Regions from separate parts of the Homo sapiens genome. Here all the other regions are linked to region 3. The links are contacts of gene promoters, found by promoter capture Hi-C in blood cells and fetal thymus (Javierre and others, 2016). All regions are on one chromosome and are shown on one strand. Each heading gives the region's core, a stretch centred on a gene start or on the middle of the fragment in contact. The rest is flanking DNA. Distances are from core to core; before and after follow the strand shown. Region 1 overlaps RNF139-DT (RNF139 divergent transcript). Region 2 holds the start of TMEM65 (transmembrane protein 65). Region 3 holds the start of ZHX1 (zinc fingers and homeoboxes 1). Region 4 has its middle 4.2 kb from the start of TYW2. Region 5 holds the start of TATDN1 (TatD DNase domain containing 1).

What was found. Contacts are between HindIII fragments. The CHiCAGO score rates a contact against its expected background, and 5 or more counts as called.
Region 1: a contact is called between a fragment that was not itself captured here and the fragment with the promoter of ZHX1 in region 3, in 1 of 17 cell types (naive CD4 T cells). The highest score is 5.0, in naive CD4 T cells.
Region 2: the fragment with the promoter of TMEM65 here is called in contact with the fragment with the promoter of ZHX1 in region 3 in 2 of 17 cell types (total B cells and fetal thymus); the score reaches 5.6 in total B cells.
Region 4: a contact is called between a fragment that was not itself captured here and the fragment with the promoter of ZHX1 in region 3, in 7 of 17 cell types (total B cells, fetal thymus, neutrophils and 4 more). The highest score is 9.1, in total B cells.
Region 5: the fragment with the promoter of TATDN1 here is called in contact with the fragment with the promoter of ZHX1 in region 3 in 1 of 17 cell types (monocytes); the score reaches 5.7 in monocytes.

The regions. Positions count from the first base shown.
Region 1 is chr8:124,462,428-124,465,127 of GRCh38, reverse strand. RNF139-DT (RNF139 divergent transcript) reads left to right here. Exons shown (of 2, transcript NR_108047.1): 2 at 1-2,635. Among named protein-coding and RNA genes, the nearest start is that of RNF139-DT, 11 kb to the left of the region's middle. The HindIII fragment of the contact is 1,028 bases long and covers 826-1,853 here.
Region 2 is chr8:124,371,431-124,374,219 of GRCh38, reverse strand. TMEM65 (transmembrane protein 65) reads left to right here and starts at 1,519. Exons shown (of 7, transcript NM_194291.3): 1 at 1,519-2,366. The coding sequence starts at 2,063. RefSeq lists enhancers at 957-1,146, 1,358-1,652 and silencers at 1,377-1,606, 1,727-1,996, 2,127-2,256, 2,307-2,436, 2,447-2,496. The HindIII fragment of the contact is 4,556 bases long and covers 363-2,789 here.
Region 3 is chr8:123,272,880-123,275,664 of GRCh38, reverse strand. It overlaps ZHX1 (zinc fingers and homeoboxes 1), which reads left to right and starts at 1,379. Exons shown (of 4, transcript NM_007222.5): 1 at 1,379-1,448. ZHX1-C8orf76 (ZHX1-C8orf76 readthrough) reads left to right here and starts at 1,379. Exons shown (of 6, transcript NM_001204180.2): 1 at 1,379-1,448. RefSeq lists an enhancer at 29-148 and silencers at 629-1,318, 1,519-1,718, 1,755-2,122. The HindIII fragment of the contact is 9,533 bases long and covers 1-2,785 here.
Region 4 is chr8:124,445,232-124,447,931 of GRCh38, reverse strand. No RefSeq gene overlaps it. Among named protein-coding and RNA genes, the nearest start is that of TYW2, 4.2 kb to the left of the region's middle. The HindIII fragment of the contact is 2,542 bases long and covers 45-2,586 here.
Region 5 is chr8:124,537,715-124,540,414 of GRCh38, reverse strand. It overlaps TATDN1 (TatD DNase domain containing 1), which reads left to right and starts at 1,330. Exons shown (of 12, transcript NM_032026.4): 1 at 1,330-1,390. The coding sequence starts at 1,369. NDUFB9 (NADH:ubiquinone oxidoreductase subunit B9) reads right to left here and starts at 1,292. Exons shown (of 4, transcript NM_005005.3): 1 at 1,128-1,292. The coding sequence starts at 1,228. RefSeq lists an enhancer at 1,400-1,469. The HindIII fragment of the contact is 3,000 bases long and covers 699-2,700 here.

The DNA of each region.
Region 1 (2,700 bases), core at 90-2,589, 1.2 Mb before region 3:
ATTCTCCCATTGGAGCTTGCCTTCAACTTTCATGGCTTCTTATCACATTTACTCTTGTCCCATAGAATATCCTGAATTGGTCCATGCAACAGGGCTAAATACACCATACCTGCTAGAGAACTTTTACATGCTATGGATCCCACTGAAAACTGGCAGATTTCTATCTCACCCAGTTTACGAGTCAGAACAGTACTGCCAACTTCTGAATTCCCACAGAAGCCTACACAGCTTGGTGTGCTTCCCTGGTGGCAGAATAATTTTGGTGAAATGAGTGGGTGAGATGCAATAATTTGTCCTTTACTGTGAAGGGGATATCTTGGCATTCAAGCAGCCTACTGGGCCCTAAAAGTTTCACTGAGGTAACAGCTTGCTGGGTCTTAAGGATTATTTCCCATCCTCCAGTGTACAGTATGCTAGCTGCTTATTATTCACCTTATCCAGCTAGCATGATGTCATCAATGTGGTAGGTCATTGTGACATTATGTGGGATGTTTAGATGGTCTAGATCTCTTCGGATTATGACGCAGTGTGGAAGAGTTAACATAACCCTAAGCCAATACTATAAATGGGTACTGCTGTCCTATATAAACACAAACTTAATTCTTGTCCAGCACTCTCAGGACCCAGTTCCATACACATGCTCATGGTTCCTGTTGGTACATGTTGGTTAGATCCTGCATCTCTTTGGTCATATAAGCCCATTTGGAATTGAAAGTAGACACACAGAATGAGGGCAAAACACCTGCAGAACAGCTGCTTCATCATGGTGGGCTTTTTTCATATTAGGTTTTGTTACCTTTGAGTTTTTAAATTATGTGTAAAGCTTCGATTAAAAAAATAAAAATTATTAAAAAGAAACTGAGACAGTCTATCCACCTATCTCTATTTACCCAGTGCTGTTGTTGTGTTACATAAAATTCAATTTTAGCTTCATGTTCATGCAATATTTTCGTTTACCCTTGATTCAACCTTGACCTTTAAAAAGCCAAAAAGACAAATACCTATTTTGACACTGGTTCTGATCTCTCTGAAATTCTGTGTGACCAATGGTCAAGTAACCTTGCAGGTTATTTATCATGTCTAATCTGAAAAAAGTCATTGTATTTACTAATATTTTAATATTCACCTTATAGGTAAGCATTCTAAACATGATTGTGGCAAGAAATTCTTATATGCTTTACATGTTGAAATTCTGTGTCAAATGAAGTACATATGTATATTATTGCAAGAGTGAATTTCTTCAGTAATGATTGTGACAGCTAGTAAATTTAAGTAGAAAGTAATTATAAACTTCCAAATACTTTTTTTAAATGGGCAAAATATATGAAACAATGGCCCTGAAGGCATTGGACATAGGCAGTGAAGGATAGTAATCCATGAGAGATGGAATGCAAACAAGGTGAGCAATACAATTGCTCCAACTTGCTGCCTGAAGAAAGGCTTTGGCATGGGGAGAGGGAACCCAGAAGACTCTGTGAGGTGAGGAGATATAAGTGGGAGTCCTGAGAGCCCAAGGCAACTAGAGTTCACAGGGTAGAATACTAGAGAGGACAGAGTGACACAGAGAGAACTCCAGAGATCTGCTGACCATTCTCCTGAAGTATTAAGCTAAATAATGATTAGTACATGCATGAGAGGAAATAACCAAAGGCTTGGCAAAGAACCATCAGAAAGGATTAAAGAAAACAATACTCAAAGCTCACACAGGATGGTGAATGATTCCTGATCCCGTCAGCAAGAGTGGAAAAGATCCTAATTCACAAGGCACCAGTTAGAGTACTAAGAAAGGTCTTGCTTCAATAGCGGGAAAAATTAACCCTCGACTAAATGCTCTAGAATAACCTAACAAAGCTTAAAAGAGAGACCCAAAAACATTCAAACTGTGTCCAAATAACTTAATCATACTCCAGAAGAAAGTTCAAACTGTTTTAGGGATATGAAAATAATCTACAAAGTAAAATTCACAATGGCTGGCATCCAATCAAAAATTACCAGGCATGCAACAGAAAAATACAACCCATAATAAGAAAAATAAAACATTCTGGGCTAGGTGCAGTGGCTCACACCTGTAATCCCAGCACTTTGGGAGGCCAAGGTAGGTGGATGACCTGAGGTCAGGAGTTCAAGACCAGCCTGGCCAACATGGCGAAACCCCGTCTCTACTAAAAATACAAAAATTAGCAGGGAGTGGTGGTGCTCACCTGTAGTCCCAGCTATTCAGGAGGCTAAGGCAGGAGAATTGCTTGAACCCAGGAGGCAGAGGTTGCAGTGAGATTGTGCCAATGCACTCCAGCCTGGGCAACAGAGCAAGACTCCATCTCAAAACAAACAAAAAATAAAACATTCTGTCAAAACTGACTCAGAAATTACAGATGATGAAGATTATTAGACAAGGACATTAAAACAGTTATTATAATTATATTCCATGTATTCAAGAAACCAGAGGAAAGACTGAAGATATTACAGACAATGAAGGTATAAAAAGACCCGTATCAAACTTCTAGAGATGAAAACTCCAATGTCTGAGATGAAAAATATGTTAGATGAGATTAATGGCAGATTAGATATTGCAGAAAGAAAGATCAGTGAACTTGAAGATGCAGCAGTAGAACCTCCCTGAAACAGAGAGAAAAAAGAATAAAATGAGACACACACCTCCTACCAAAATAAATAGAGCATCAGTAAAGGGTGGGACAACTT
Region 2 (2,789 bases), core at 270-2,769, 1.1 Mb before region 3:
TCTGGAGGTGGTTGGGAATGGGTTCTTACTGAAGAACTTTTTTCAAACCTCACTTCCCAGGTCTGGGGCCTGTGATCCACCCCAGTGAATCAGAATATCTTGGGGGTAGGAAATTGTGGGGGGGATGGGGTGGTACTCCCATGAGCCTGAGACTGAAATAGCTCTGCAGAGGATTCCAGTGCACACTAGGGAATGAAGGGGGTTTCAAAGACAAGGAAGATATACTTTATGCACTCAAAAAGCTTTCATTTCCACAGAGAGCATTCTTAATTGTTGTTATTACATCACAGAGGCATCACCTTGGAATTTAAAAAAGAAGCGATTCCTTTCAATGTTTAAGAGACATCAGTGTTTCTCAAGCTTTCGTGTGTGTTATTACTGGAGGGCTTGTTAAAACCCACATGACTGGGTCCAATGTCTACGTTCTGATTCAGGAGGTGTGAAGTGGGGTCCACTATTTCTCACGTCTAAAAAGCTCTGGGACACACTTTGAGAACCAGAGTTAGAGAAGTAGGAGGCTTTAGTGGTAACAATCCTCCATTATTCAGTTTAATATTCTACTTACATGTAGCACATTTACTACCTACAAGTTTCCGGGCTGAGTGCAGCACTGTTTATGATAAGGATGGGATTTAGATCTTGATTACGCTCCAGCAGATTTATTAAGTGGATTTATTCTCTAAGGGTGCCTAAGCGTCATTAGACAGGTTCAGATAAAGCAGAGATCTCCTCCCTTAGAAGAGATTAGGGACAGCTTAATGAAGTAGGAGACCTTTCACCTGGGCCTTGAAAGATGCCTAGGACCTGGATCAGGGGAAATCGTGGACAATCAAATTATTCTTCCCGCTTTAGCACAGAGACAAAAAAATCACAAGCAACCACTAGGAAAGGTCTATGACATTCTTGCCTCTGCCTCTAGCATTAACAATTTGCATGCCAGCTGCTGGAATCTGAACGGGGAGGACTGTTCTCGTGTCAAGGGCTCAGTCTCAGACCCTCCTTGGGCAGGGGTGGAACTGGCTTCGCTTTCTCTTTGGGGCGCCCAGAGCGACTGCATTAGAGCCGGCCTGCTCGGCCGAAGCGGCGGTGGGCGCTGACTTGGCGAAGGGCGCAGCTGGGGCGCTTCGTTCCGGAGCAGAGCGCCGTGATCCCGTCGGGGCTGGGGTGGCAGCGCAGCTCTCCGCCTGTCCAGAGCGGGGCCGCACGCCGGGGCACCTTTCAGAACAAGCTCCAGATGTGGCCCCAGGTTGGGGGCCGGGTGGCAGCTGTACTACCCTGGCGGGCGAGGGGTCCAGAGCTCGTTTTCCCTATTCCGATCTGTAGGTTTAACGCCAGCACAGGGTGGCGCACCCTACCTCCTTCCACCTTCACGCACCAGCGCGGGAGGGGACGCGTGTGCACGCTCCTCCCCTAGGAGGGAGGGCGGCCCGAGAGCCTGCAGACTGCGCCTGCGCAGCCTCGCTCACACACCTCCCCGCCCCCCCGCACCTCCTTCCCCTTTCGCCCCGCCCCGTTCCCACTTCTGCTGCCGCTAGGGGTAGCGGCGGCGGCGGCGGCTGCGGCTCGGGAGCGCGGCTGCTTTGAGGGCTCGGGAACCTTACAGAGTGGGGACGTGGGGAGGCTAGAGGGTGAGAAAGCTGGCGGGAGAGTAGGGCGGCGCTGGAGGAGGGCGGTGCGTGGCTGACTCATCCTCTGGAAGATCAGACTGACAGAGACACACACTAGCCCGCCCCGCCCGCCCGCGCCGCTCCTCCTCAGCCGGGAGGCGCCCGCCCGCACCGACCGCCCGCCCTCTCCGGGCGCTGTCCGGGCCCGGCCGTCTCAGAGAAAGTTTTTCCCATCGGAGGGGCGGGAGCCGCCGCGGGCCTTTTGGAAAGGAAGTGGGGACGGAACAGGAGGCGAGAGCCGCGCGGGCCCGCGGAGTGCATGGTGCCCGGCGCCTCGGCTGCCTGGCAGGAGGACCTCGGGGCGGGGTCGAGCTGAGCCCAGCTCCTTCTCGCCTCAGCCGCGCCAGAAACCGCCTTGCCGGACGGCCGCGGGGGTCCCAGCTCCTCAGCTCGCCATGTCCCGGCTGCTGCCGCTGCTGAGGAGCCGGACCGCGCGCAGCCTGAGGCCGGGCCCGGCCGCCGCCGCCGCGCCCCGCCCGCCGTCCTGGTGCTGCTGCGGGCGGGGGCTGCTGGCGCTCGCGCCCCCCGGCGGCTTGCCGGGCGGCCCCAGGCGGCTGGGCACGCACCCCAAGAAGGAGCCCATGGAGGCGCTGAACACGGCGCAGGGCGCGCGCGACTTCATCTACAGCCTGCACTCCACGGAGAGGAGCTGCCTGCTCAAAGAGCTGCACCGCTTCGAGTCTATTGCCATTGCCCAAGGTAAGGGGGGCAGGTGGGGGGCGAGCCCGGGGGCCCCGACGCCCTCCTCTTCTCGCCAGCCCACCGGGAGCCCGCTGCGGCCCTGGATCTTGGACCCCCGCCGCCGCCCCCCTTCCGCCCCCCTCGCCTGTCTGGCCCCACGCCTGGGACGGCTGGGGGCGGGGAGACTTTCCGCCGCCCGAGTTTCCCCCAGGCAGGTAGGACGGGCGCGGGTCGTGCCAGGCAGCCGAGGCCAGCGCTAGCTACTTCCTCCCCAGCCTCCGAATCCGGAGCTTCGGCCTAAAATGCCAGTTAACGCTGTTGGGATTGAGTTTTGATTTGCCCCGTGCCTCCCCTCCCCAGCCCTCCTGTCCCTTAGCCCTTGCTGCTTTCTTGCGAGCGTGCACCCGTGCAGGTGGCATGCTGTGCCTGCTCCGAGAAAGT
Region 3 (2,785 bases), core at 130-2,629:
CTACTCGGGAGGCTGAGGCAGGAGAATCGCTTGAACCCGGGAGGCAGAGGTTGCAGTGAGCAGAGATCGCGCCATTTCACTTCAGCCTAAGCGACAACGCGAGACTCCGTCTCAAAAAAAAAAAAAAAATCAGACTTCCACTTGAAGCAATTGCATCTTTTAGGATTAATGTGGCTCAGCGGAGCTCTGCTGTGCTTTTAGGATTACTGTGGCTCAGCGGAGCTCTGCACAAAGGGTCCGCGACTGGGATGGGGGTGGGGAGTGAACGTCAAGGGGCCCAGGAGCGCTCGAGCGTCCAAGGCCCGGCGTGTGGAGCAGCTGGAGGGTGAGTCGCCGCTCTCCGCTTTGGTTCTGTTCCTCCACGTTCTGACCGCGGTGCGGGGGAAAGGGAAAGTGAGTAGGGAGGGGCGGAGACGCCGGGCAGTGTTCCCGAAACCCCTGGCCCTCGCTGGCCCCGCTGCGGGGCTGGTTCCCTGAAAGCCGACGGGATGTGAAGCCCTCGACTCGGACAGAAGCCTCTGGAAGAGCGAGTGGCGGTTCGCAGGGAGGAGGGCGGCTGAGGGGCAGAGGGCGGCTCCGCCTTGCCCGGCGGTTCTGAGTGCAGCTGAACTGAACTTTCGGTGTCAGCGGGTGGAGCTGCGGCCCGCGGAGGAGCGGGGTCCGAAGCGAGGAGAGGTGGAGCTGCCGCTGACAAGGGGCGCGGCGACTTCTGTCAGGGCGCTGGGCTCCCGGCCGGACTCGCAGCAGCCCCCCGAGGGGCGGGGCCTGGGTCGTGTCGCCCCAGGGGATGGGCGTGTGATGACAAGGGGCGTTTCAGTAGAAGCCAGCATGCTTACCTCTCACGATCCAGCAGTGACATTAGGAAGGCGGAGCGCAAGGAAGGCGGGGCTGCCTTCTGTGCTGACCCGAGAGAAGACCAGGCTTCAGTCCACAGCGGGCGGAGCGGTCGCAGGCAAAGGGCGGGGCCATTTCGAGCCCTGGGAAGGCGGGGCGTCTCCTGACAGGGGGCGGAGCTTCCGCAGTCTGGGGCGGGGCTTCTGTTGACAGGGGGGCGGGGCGCCTCCCTACCTCCCGCGGTGCGCCAATCCCCGGACTAGGGGCCGGGGTCGGACCCCAGTGGAGTAGCAGGGTCTGGGCGTGGAGAGCTCGGCGCCGCACGGGGTGGGGGCGCGCGGAGGACGCGCGCGCGGGAGGGCCCCGCCTTGGCCGGCTCTCTCCCTTCCCCCTCCGCCCCCGGACGGCCGCTGGGGCGCGCGCCTCTCCTCGCACCCCCACCCTGAGTCCCCACACTCCGCGGGGCCACCGAGCTGCTGAGGCCCCTTTGCGGGCCCGCCGAGCGGTTCCGGGTTTAGGGTTCACAGGTCAGAGTTGACTCCCTGAAAAGTGCAGCCGGTTTGAAATGCAAGATGGCGGCGGCGTGGCGCTGAGAGGCGCGGCGGCCCCTGCAGGTAGTGGCGCGAGCCGGCTCCGCGACCAGCGGGCCCGGAGACTCTGGGCTGCGGGTGGGAACTGGAGCGCAGAGTCCGCGGCCGGCACGGGAAAGGCGAGTAGCGCGGGGCCTGGCGGGAGGAGGGCAGCCTCACAGCAGAGACCCCTGGGGCTGAGCCCGCTCGCGGCGGCGGGTGGCGGGGTGGACCCGGCGTGGGGCGTCCGAGGGGGAGGGACGGGGCCTGCCTCGCGGCTGGGTAGTCGCCGCAGAGGGACAGACAGACCCACAGCCTCCCTCGCTCTTTTTGGGTGTCTCCGCCACCGAAAGAGCTTGGGGGCGGGGGGCTCTCTGGAGGGAACATCTCAGCCCCCTGCCTTGGTGAGGACCCAGCAACTTAGGATTGTTGAGAGGAGTGAAGACTGCGTATTCCCAGCGGAGGGCGCCGCCGGAGGGAGCACCCCAGTAATGTTGGGAGTCCTAGAGGAGGTCAGGAGCGCTGTCCTCCGGGGGCGTGTGGCTGCCTCGTGGGGGACCCAGTCTCCCTGAGAGTAAGGAGAGATTCTCTTGCTGGAGCTGAGCGCACTGACTGAGGTTGGAGCCCCAGCAAACCCTTCAGGAGAAGTCTTTACCTCCAGTTCAAGGAAGGCTATGCGCACCCGTTTCGGGGCCAGGCCATGTCCCAACTTTGGGAAAGACTGGGAGTTGAGTCCTTAAGAACCATATTACGATTGTGACGAAGCCCTGGGATTTAGGGAGAAGTTAATTAAAGAGGATGGTAGGGGCGTGGGGGTGTGGGGGCTGACCCATGGGAATCCTCCAAGCCTTAGGGCCCACAGTGAACAATCTACTAATACCTCAAGGGGTATAAAAGGCTGGGAAGGAGAGGTGTGAGAGGAACAAGGTCTAAGGGCAGGAAAGAAGAGCCCTGGCAGATCCCCTTTCCTTATATATTTACACCAAAGTTGGAGGTAAAGGGACTTGGCAATTCTTTGTTTTAGTACCTTTCCTGTCCTCTCTCCTCCGTGGGTAACTGTAAGGAAAGAGCATAGCCCCTGAGAAGGAAAAGATTCCATTTGATATCCTTAGCTTAGGTTAGTGAAGGATCCAGCAGCTGGGAAGGCGTCAATGAGAGACAGCAGGCGGGGGAATTAGAACAGAGACTAGGGATGAGAAAAGAGGAATACAGGGAAGATATCGGACAGAGCAGGAATTCCACAGCCCTTTTCTGTCAACTCAGCCCAGCTATTAGAAAAAAAAAAAAATGCGAAGAGCTAATATTTGAGAGAAAAATGTAAAGGCTGAGAGAGAAGTCGTGATGTGATTAGGTTGGGATTCCATGTAACTTAAGCAGTTCTC
Region 4 (2,700 bases), core at 66-2,565, 1.2 Mb before region 3:
CCACTTAAATGAATTGTTTATTGTCTCTCCTTTTTTGCAAAGCTTACTTGGAATTTCGCATTTACAAGTTTTAAATGAAAAGGTCCAATGTGAAAGATTAAGCCTGGCAGCAATTATACCAGTCCCCCCTAGGTGAACTGCTCCAGGATGGAAAACTGGAGATTGCTTTTCAGCAGTTCTTTTTCATCTCCTTGCTAATGGAATGACTTTTACTTTTTGGTTACAAATGGCAAGGCCATGTAAATCTTGTCCTGCTTGCCGCTACTGGCCTGAACTTGGACATTCCTTTCTAGAACTTTGTCATTTCCCTTCTCTAGTGAAACATTTCTTTTGCTGAGTCCCCTATTGTGGTCTTTACTTTTGATTACCTAATAATCTTTTGGTTTCTGTGTTAACTTGGACAATTCTTCCCCGTGGGTTTAGGGACAGGCTTTACTTTCTTCCTTTATGTGGCTGAGAAACAAGGGACAGCCCTAAATGTTCTTGTCTAGAAACAGGGATACATCCCTTGACCCATGGCATATTTTTCTAACCAATTGACCATGTGGCTTCAGGATGACTCAGATGTTTCAGGGCAGTTGCAACAACTGCTCTTCTCATAGATGAAGACAATAAATTAACTTTGGGACAACATCTGGAGGTTTTGACCCCACACCAAATAACAGAGGCCCTAGAAGCTAAAGGGCACCAATAGATGAGTAGGGGATAGTTATTAAATTATCAGGCTTTATTGCTAGATACTCTTGATATAACTCTTAAAGTATAACAGAAGACCTTAATCCTAGCTACGTATCTACTTGGATCCAAAGGCACCCTAGATCATTCATGTACACAAGCTATGGAACAAATTTATTCCAGCTGGCAGGATTTAAAAGACGGGCCACTAGGGCTGGGTGTGGTGGCTCACACCTGTAATCCCAGTACTTTGGGAGGCTGAGGCAGGCGGATTACTTGAGGTCAGGAGTTCCAGAACAGCCTGGCCAACATGGTGAAACCCCATTTGTACTAAAAATACAAAAATTACCTGGGCGTGGTGGTGCACACCTGTAGTCCCAATTACTCAGGAGGCTGAGGGAGGAGAATCACTTGAACCCAGGAGGCAGAGCTTGCAGTAAGCCAAGGTCATGCCACTGCACTCCAGGCTAGAGACAGAGCGAGACTCTGTCTCAAAAAAGGATAATAATTTTAAAAAAGAATTAACATGTACACAAACTCCAAGTATGGCTTTCTGGTGCTTCATGCTCATGCTGCTATTTGGAAATAATGGGGACTCTTTAACTTCTAAGGGCTCCCCTATAGAACATTATTTGGGAATTTTAAATCTACTAGATGCTTCCTTGCTGCCTAAGGAAGTTGCTGTGATTCACTGCAAGGGACATCAAAAAGAAAACTCCAAAATATGCCAGGCACTGTGGCTCACACCTGTAATCCCAGCACTTTGAGGGGCTAAGGCGGGCGGATCATGAGGTCAGGAGTTCGAGACCAGGCTTGCCAACAGGGTGAAACCCCATCTCTACTAAAAATACAAAAATTAGTTGGGCGTGGTGGCTCGTGCCTGTAATCCCAGCTACCTGGGAGGCTAAGGCAGGAGAATTGCTTGAACCTGGGCAGCAGAGGTTGCAGTGAGCCTGAGATCGTGCCATTGCACTCCAGCCTGGGCAACTTGAGCAAGGCTCTGACTCAAAAAAAAAAAAAAAAAGAAAAAAAAGAAAAGAAAAGAAAGAAAGAAAACTCCAAAATAATAAAAGGGCATTCTTTTGCAGATGCTACAGCTGAGGCAGCTTCATTTGAGGGAACCAGTTAATCTGGTAGGCATGTTGGTGCCCACTGCCTTGGTGACGATAAAACTAGAGCATGGTTAATACTAGAAAAGAACAAAAATGGGCTAAGACCCATGGGTTAACTATAAGCACTTCCAGATGGCTAATTGATGAAAATGACAGATGATATGTACCAAGAGCTGATCAATGGAAAATAGTTAAGTATTGGCATGGCTCTACTCATTTGGGAAGAGATTTCTCATTTCAATTAATATGGCTCATCTGTTTATAGGGAAAGACTTTCTTTTTTTTTTTGAGACGGAGTCTCGCTCTGTCACCCAGGCTGGAGTGCAGTGGTGTGATCTCAGCTCACTGCAACCTCTGCCTCCTGGGTTCAAGCAATTCTCTGCCTCAGCCTCCCGAGTAGCTGGGATTGCAGGCATCTGCCACCATGCCCAGCTAATTTTTGTATTTTTAGTAAAGACAGGGTTTCACCATGTTGGCCAGGCTGGTCTTGAACTCCTGACCTCGTGATCCACCCACCTCAGCCTCCCAAAGTGCTGGGATTACAGGCGTGAGCCACCGTGCCTGGCCGAAAAGACTTTCTTAGAACAGTAAAACAAGTGACTTGGGCCTGTGAATTGTGTGCCCAAAAAAACCTCAAACAACCAAACTTTACCTCCTCCATTAGTAAAGCCTGTTCAGCATAGGGGGTCGTACCCAGAAGAAGATTGGCAAACACACTATACCCAAATGCCCCCATGTAAAGGATTCCAATATTTATCAGTGTTGGTTGATACCTTTCTTTACATGTTGGATTGAAGCTTTTCCTATCTGGCCTGAAAAGTCAATCAAGGTTTCTAAATTTTCATTCAAGGATATGATTCCCAGATTCAGGTTGCCTAAAAGCTTGTAGAGTGATAATGGCCCATCTTTACAG
Region 5 (2,700 bases), core at 81-2,580, 1.3 Mb before region 3:
TTCCTTCATCATCGATTTGTTTACATGTCCATTTTCCCCACTAATCCGTGAGCTGCTGCTGCTCAAAAATGGATTTACTAACATTTATATATTTAGCATAGAGCATAGAATCTGAATTGCAAATTCTGTCAAATCAATAAATAAATAAGGAAAACTCAAGGAAGAAACTAACAATCCCATCACATTGTACTTGGCCATCTTCCTGCCAAATCAAGAGAAGTATGTCAGTGATTTTCTAATAGTCACATATATGCAATCTGGGCTTCGAGGGTACCCTCTGTAATTCTTCCAGGCCTACTCCATTTTCCATAGAGTTTTTTTCCCAGAAGGCCTTCTTATAAAACTACGTTTGGAGAGTCGTAAGACTGGAGTGGAGGCGAGGCACTCACACATCTTGGGTTGTTAGCCCACCCTGCAATGAATTTAGGTGATTAAAATCTACACATTTTAACACTATGTTCTCAGACTAGTCTCAGACGGATAGAGGTCGAAAGAGAATTATGTAAGAGGTGAAAAAGATGTAAAGGTAATGAAAAGGACTAGATGAAGCTAAAAAGAGAAAAGCTAATGGGAGGGGTGGGAGAATGATGATGCTTTGGAGAAAGACCTAAATTTTAACCCTGGCTCAGACACTTAGAAACTCTATCACCTTGCGCAAGTTACCAGCTGTGCTCATCTTCTTATCTGTAAAATAAGCTTAAGATAATTCCTAACTCCTAGAGTTTTGCAGACTGAAGAAAATAATGCATAGTTTATTGCTGTTAATATTGGAAAGGAGAAGATCGTGAAGAAAACGATTGAGCGAGCGCTGGACCCATGACAATTACAATTTTAGGCACTTTCCTTTATTTCACTTAATTTTCCTGCGACCCTCTGCGCTGGTCGTGCGTCCGTTTTACTAAACAAAAAGCTGACGCCCAGACCCGACAAGCAACTCTACAAGGTCTCCCGGCCATAAGTGGCGAAGCCTGGATTTGAACCCGGGTCTACCATAGGATTCTGTGAAGCGAGAGGCCACCTTCCAATTCCGTTCCCGAAGTCCTTGAACCTCCAGGTACCCAGGGGCCTCTCCACCTCCATGGGGCCCCGAGGGTCACCTCCCCGAGTCCTGGGTCCCCATCCCTTACCTCTGGACGCACCACGACTCGAGGTGGCGTAGCGCCCGCTTATAAAGCCGCAACACCTTTTGCTGATGGGTCAGGTAGGGTCCCGACGCCAAGAACGCCATTACGGCGCTGACCTTCCCCGGCCGCGCGGAGAGCCGGGAAACTGCACGCCTGCTGCGGGTGACTGAGCGGGGCCAGCCGGAAGGGCGGAGTTGCCGGCGGCCACTTCCGCTTCCGCTGGGGAGGTCCTCCATGCGCAGTCATGAGTCGCTTCAAGTTTATCGGTAAGAGGAGCGTTTTCCACGCCCTTGGGTCTTTCTGACTTGTCCCGGGCGTCGGTCACCAAGGTCACAGGACCCAGGAATTGCGCCCTCCGGCATTGTAAGGGTTGAAAGGGCCGCTCAGTGGAGGAGGGCGCGGGGAGGTTTCTGGGTGCTGGTAATGCTCTGGTTCTTGATCTAGGTTCTGGATTCACGAGGGTGTATTTATTTGTAAAAATTAACAAGCCGTACAGTTATGATTTTTGTGCTGTTTTCAACATCTGTAATGTATTCAGTTTTTTAAGAAGAAAACTCCAAAAAGGCCAATCACTATGTTTCCATTCATCCCACGTGCACCTCCCGGCCCTTCCCCTCTGCCTTGGCGGAGAGGCTGACCGCTTCTGGGGACCAATTCACTCAAGCATTCATTCGTTCATATCATAGTTAGTGAGCGCCTCAAGTGGGCCTGGCACTGGCCTAGGAACACAGGGCACAAAGCTCCCAGTTGTACTGTCATCACCATCTGGTGGAGAAACTAGAAAACACAAGTAATGGGGAGAAAAACAAACTGTACTTGGCAAGTACAATGATCCAGTCGGCATCAGTAGAACGAGAGGGAGAATGCTGCGGGATTTAAATGGGCATGATCCTCGTTTTGTGGGGTTTCCAGCTACCTGAAGGTGGGAAATGACAGTGATCACACCTCTGCTTTAGCAAGGTAATCCTGATAGCTATTATGTAGGTTTTGTGGGAAATAGGGAGAGGTAGGGAAGCATTTCAAGAGCTTAAACTAGGGTAATGGAAAAGAGAGAGAAATGGAAGAGATGTGTGCAGCATTTAGCAGCTGAGTGTTCATGGCCGGTAGTAGAGAGTGAACAAAGATGACTCAGGGTTTGGAAAAGTACTTAAATATGAAATGGAAGCATGACTAGTTTGGCGGTGAAGAGAGGTACCCAGGTCCATTTGGATTAGGTTAAGTTTGAGATAATTATAGGACATCCAGGTAGAGATATCTGGGCAATTGGGAATGTGGTCTGGCAATCAAGAGATTAGGATTATACATTTAGATCTGAGAGTTATTTAAGCAGTATTTTTTTTTTTCAAAGACGTTGTGCTAAGTCCTGTGGAACTGTAAAATCTAGTGGTGCAGTTTTCAGACTGGAGACCTAAGACCTATGTACTGTACAGTCAAAAGCAAATGCAGGGGAGAATATGTTAAGTGCCAGGAAAAAGGTTTTGAAATTGCTGTGGGAAAGCCTGGAGTAGGGGTTTGGGGAGGGGTTGTCAAATAAGACATTGCCGTGTCTTAGCCTTTCCATCCTAACCTTTGATAT